Regions from separate parts of the Homo sapiens genome. Here region 2 is linked to region 1. The links are contacts of gene promoters, found by promoter capture Hi-C in blood cells and fetal thymus (Javierre and others, 2016). All regions are on one chromosome and are shown on one strand. Each heading gives the region's core, a stretch centred on a gene start or on the middle of the fragment in contact. The rest is flanking DNA. Distances are from core to core; before and after follow the strand shown.

Region 1 (2,548 bases), core at 36-2,535:
ACTCCCCTCGGGTTTGTAAAGCTGCCTCCATTTGCATTGGGAGTGCGGGGGGGCTGCCTGGGGGACTGTGGCGATTGTCCTCAGGCTATTGGCTGAGAGTGGTATGCCACTGACTTATTCCTCCAAGAGACATTTCCAGTACCCTCCATCCCTGCCCCCTGTACTACACACTGGTGACCTTCCCCCTCAAAAACAAAACTCAAACTCTGTCCCTGATGCTCATGGTCTACTGAAAACAGAATTACAGCTGTCTGTGAATGACCTCTGACCAAGCTGGGGGGACACAGAGAAGGGACTTGTGACTTGCTTTGCCAGGGAGGTCCTGAGAGGCTGTCCAGGGAAGGTGACATTGAGGCCGGGACTTGAGCTGGCTGTTTGAAGGCAGGAAAAATGGCAGGGCAAGGACTGGAGTCCTTCGCCTTCCTGGGGGACGTTTATTCCACATGCCTCGGGAAATCTGAAATGGCCTTGGAGAGCATTTGCTGGGGGTTGGGGGTGGGCGGAAGGGGACAGAGAGCATTGCCACCGACAGGCGGGGCGTCCCAGGGCCTCTCCCCAGGAGCGGATGAGCTCAGACGCGGCTCACTCAGCTGTGTCCAGGCACAGCCGGTTTATGACCTAAGAGAATGACAACCCAGGAGCAAGTCGGGATGACAAAGACGCCCAGAAGGGCACGCGCTTTTATGTAACCGACCTCTGAGCTGGCGGATCTCAGGAGGTTGGCGCTCTGAGCTCAGGCGCGGAGAAAGGACGGCGCCCCTGCCTTACTCTCTTATAAGTACGAGGGGACAGCAACGCGACATAACTTAGAGAAGTCCAGGAAGCTTTAGAGAGCAGGGCGGTCCCGCTGCTATTCCTCAGAGCGCGACTGGGGCGAACTGGGGCGCCCTTCCCAGCTCCAGCTCGGCCCTTGTCCCCTCTTCCCAGGATCACTCGCTGGGTGACCTTGGGCGAGCCACTTGACTTCTCTGAGCCCCAGTTTCCCAGTCCGTGCATCTGAAAGGCTGTAATAGCGTCGTGGGGCTCCCCACTCGGCCCTCAGGGCCAAAGGTGGGCGCCGGACACGCGGGAGGGGCCCTTGGACGCACCCCCTCTCGCAAACGCCCGGTTAGTCCCGGCGGACTCGCAGTGGAGAGCGGCCCCAGGAGGCGGCGGGCGGCGGGGCGGTGGGCGCCAGTGCGCAGGCGCGGCGCGGCAGGGCGGGGCGGCGGGCGCGGGGCGGGGCGGGGCGGAGCCGGGCGGGGCGGGGCCGGCGGCAGGCGCTGGGCGCTCGGCGCGGTGGCTCAGAGTGCGCGGGGCGGCGCGCGGCGTGCAGGTCGCAGCTGTGGCTCGGGTGCTGGCAGGTGCTGGCGGGACTGGCGGGGATCGCCGTGGACTGCCTCAGGGGCGCCGCAGCCCGCTCGGCCCGAGGGCCCGCCTAACCGCGCCGCCCGCGCCCGCTCCTCCTCGGCCCGCGCCCGGAGCGCGGGGGCCGCCGGCGCTGGGTACTCGGCGGCCACCGGGGATCGGGGCTGAGCGGTCGGTTCCCGCCCCCGTGCCGCCGCCGCCGCCTTCCGGCCGACCGCCCGGCTTGGCCGCTGCTGCCGCGTCTGGCCCCCGGGTCCCCGCCGCTGGGGGCGCGGGCGGGGTCGGGGGTTGCCGGGCGCCGCCCCCCGTGCGCCTGGAGTCCACATCCCGGGCCCGGCGGCCGGCGAGCATGGAGGAGAAGTACCTGCCCGAGCTGATGGCGGAGAAGGACTCCCTGGACCCCTCCTTCACGCACGCCCTGCGCCTGGTGAACCAAGGTGAGGCGCCGGCCGTTAACTGCCGGCCGGCGGCGGTTGGGGGCCGGGTGGAAACGCGGGGGCCCAGGGGGCCCCTCCGTGCCCTCTGCTGTCAGCGGACGCGGCGGAGACGGAGGCCCGGGTGGCCCCCGGGGTCGTTTGCACGGGGACCTGGGAGGCTGTGGGACACCTAGGGGAAGACCCTGATGTGAATTTTGGGGACTTGGAAGGAGAAGGCTGGGGCGCATGGGTGAGACTTGAAGGAAATCTTTGGGGACTCGGGCACACCCAGGGGAAACTTCTGGGTGGGGGACAGCGACCATCTGGGGGCTTCGTTGGGAACGAGGTTGAATTATGTCATGGAAGGGGAGCGTGTTGGACTCGGGGAAGTAGGGCGTTTGGTTTGTCTAAGGTACTGGAGAAAAAGCTGGAGGAAAATGGAAGGACTTGAGGGACTCAAATGCAGAAGAGGTGAAGGGAACAGGTGCTTGCATTGTTAGCGAAGTTTGGGGACCTTGGAAGAGGGTTGGGGTCAGACCCCAGCACCTGAGAGGAGAGGAGCTCCGTGGTCCCAGGGGAGGAGCCCAGTTCCCCCTCCCAGCCCTTTGTCTCTCCTGTGTCCAGGCTCCAACAGCCCTGGCGGGGCAGTCAGCCCTCCCAGGGGATGGGCAGCCCATGCCAAGCCTTGCAGGCTGGCCCTTGGAGAAGTCAGTAGGGGAGAAGAGGCCGGCAAAAGAGCACCGTTCCGGAGGGCGTTGGGTTGGGTGACCCTCATTGGTGGCTGG
Region 2 (2,548 bases), core at 15-2,514, 730 kb before region 1:
CTGACACCTTGATCTTGGACTTCTAGCCACCAGAATGGTGAGGACATAAATTCCTGTTGCTTAAGCCACCCAGTCTGTGGTATTCGTTACAGCAGTCACAGAAAAATAGTACACAGGCCTTGAGAAACAGACGTGAACACTGCTCCAATCCCTGGAGTAACAGGGATTCCTGTGAGCTGCCTGACTGCAGGCAGCACTGTCAGCATCCCCATCCCCCAGGATCGCCTGGGACCTCCCTCTTATCACATCGCTCCACCTCAGCTCCTTGGCAGCCAGGCCTCCAGCGGGAGGCAGAGGGCATCCTCAAGCTGGGCAATTGGAGGAGCATTTAATGAAGGGGCTCTTTACAAAGGTGTGGGCAGGGTTTTGGGAGGTCAGAGAGGAATGATGCAGCCCTTCTGCAACCTCGCCTCACCCCAGGCCTGCAGGCATGCGGAGGGAGTGCCCGCTGGAACCCAGGGCCAGGACAGGGCCTGTGCAGAGGAGTCCACCTTCAGCAAGACGGACCACCAATACTCTGCGACTTAGAGAAGGAGACTGAGGAATAAATGCCCAGACCGTACTCCGCTCCTGCCCTCCTGGTTTCCTGCCAGAGTCTCCCCTTGTCTGAAGCCAACCTGAAGACACCCCTTGAGGACCCCTTCACTGTACTGGGACCATGGGGGGCTGAGCCTCTGGGATCAGTCACCTCCCTAACCTCCTGCATGAGGAACAACTTGACGAACACACATTTCAACCTGTAACAGGGTGGACAAGCAGAACCCTTCTTCAGAAGCACATTTATGAAGTTCCCGCAGTAACTGGCTCAGAGAGAAATGCTGCTGTAACAGCTGAGAGAAAACTGATAACCCTGAAAATAAAGTGTCCATGGAAATCTCATATATTGCCTATTGTTTAAAAACAATGTCTCACATAAAAGAGGTGATGGATTAGTTTCTTTCATTATGCTGCCTCAAGCTATCTACGTGGACAAAAACCTACGCAGCTGCTTTTACACTTTAGAGCTAGACTTGATTCACTTCCATTCTTAGGAGTCAGGGGTGGCATTTGGTGGGCATCTCTTGATGCAGAATCTTATGCCAGTTTCTATAAGCAGGCTCAGGTGCCATCTGCATAGGAACTCCAGAGGGTGGACATGTAAAGAAACTTTGGGACTGTGCATTGGTCACCATCTTGGAGGGTGATGGCAGCTGCCCTGTAAATTATTGGGTAGGCATCTTGAGAGGCAGGGAGATGCAGTGAGCTCCAAGCCCAGTCAAGGCATAGCAGAAGGAAGGACAATGGAACACAGGTGACCCAGGGTGACATTTGTCAATAGATACAGCATGGACACTGGCTAATCAGAAAGAACGCATGCCCCTGATGTGCCAGGGGTTACTCCTTTAATTTTAGAAGCTGAGAAAGAAGGTCCTAGGAGTTTGGGGCCAGTGGGCTATACTGCCAAGAGTATGGGGACACAGGGCCAGGGCTTAAAGAGGTGCTATTTACTAAATCACTAAATAGGGAAAGATTTCGTTAGTATAATAACCACCATGGCCATAACTCATGTATATGGGTTGAACAGCAGCCCTGCTGGTAGGTGGCCAACTGGTCTCGGGTGGTCTGGGCCTTTCCTGGTTTCGTCACTTAAAGTCCCAGAACCTCTTTAGCCTGCCCTGGGTATCATTCTATCAGTTACGTTACCTGCCAGTCAAGTTACACAGTGCAGGCTAGAAGCTCTCAAAGGGGAGCTGTCTATAGCAAGGGGGAGAAACTCGCCTCCCTTCCCCTTACAGAGTCAAGATTACCATGGGCTGTGGGGGAATTCACCCCACACTCCCCAGTTAAAGCGCTTCTCCCTTTGCGAACTGAAGTCCAAGCAGTTCTCACCCATGGAAGTCCTTGGCAACCAAGCTCACCTCTCCACCTGTGCTCTCCACCGCAAGCTCAGTTGCAGTTGCACCTCTGCAGGTTCTTTAAAGCCCCTCCCTGGGGCCTTGCTTGAGAAAACAGCCCCCCATCTGCTCCTACCCCTGCTCCTCTTTGCAGATCTCCCTCCAGCTCTCTGGGCTGGAGGTAACCTCCACAGAGAAGGCTTCCCCAACCCTGCAGATTAAGGCTACCATCCTTCCTGCCCGTTTCCTGGGCACACTGTACCGCCCCATCCCACATATCGTTATGGCTCGTTTAACTACTTTCTCCCTCAGAACTGTAAGCTGCCTCAGGGCACAAGTTCAAGCGCCTGGCAAAGAGTGGTGTATTAGTCTGATCTCAGACGGCTTTCAAGAAATATCTGAGACTCGGCCATTTATAAAGAGGATGAATTGGCTCATGGTTCCACAGGCTGTTCAGGAAGCATAGCACTGGCATCTGCTCAGCTTCTGGGGAAGCCTCAGGAAACTTACAATCATGGCAGGAGATGAAGGGGGAATGGGCACATATTACATGGCCAGCGTAGGAGCAAGAGAGGGACGGGGAGAGGTGCTACACGCTTTTCTACAGCCAGATCTCATGAGAACTCTATCACAAGAACAGCAGCAAAGGTATGGTGCCAAACCATTCACAAAGG

The links. Contacts are between HindIII fragments. The CHiCAGO score rates a contact against its expected background, and 5 or more counts as called.
Region 2: a fragment that was not itself captured here is called in contact with the fragment with the promoter of KHDRBS3 in region 1 in 1 of 17 cell types (monocytes); the score reaches 6.0 in monocytes.

The regions. Positions count from the first base shown.
Region 1 is chr8:135,456,171-135,458,718 of GRCh38, forward strand. It overlaps KHDRBS3 (KH RNA binding domain containing, signal transduction associated 3), which reads left to right and starts at 1,286. Exons shown (of 9, transcript NM_006558.3): 1 at 1,286-1,784. The coding sequence starts at 1,697. It overlaps LOC101927872 (a long non-coding RNA gene), which reads right to left and starts at 1,805. Exons shown (of 4, transcript XR_002956731.2): 1 at 1,712-1,805. RefSeq lists a silencer at 1,158-1,457. The HindIII fragment of the contact is 3,136 bases long and covers 823-2,548 here.
Region 2 is chr8:134,723,032-134,725,579 of GRCh38, forward strand. LOC124902072 (a long non-coding RNA gene) reads left to right here. Exons shown (of 2, transcript XR_007061187.1): 2 at 421-879. It also overlaps a transcript of ZFAT not described here. Among named protein-coding and RNA genes, the nearest start is that of ZFAT, 11 kb to the left of the region's middle. The HindIII fragment of the contact is 7,755 bases long and covers 1-2,548 here.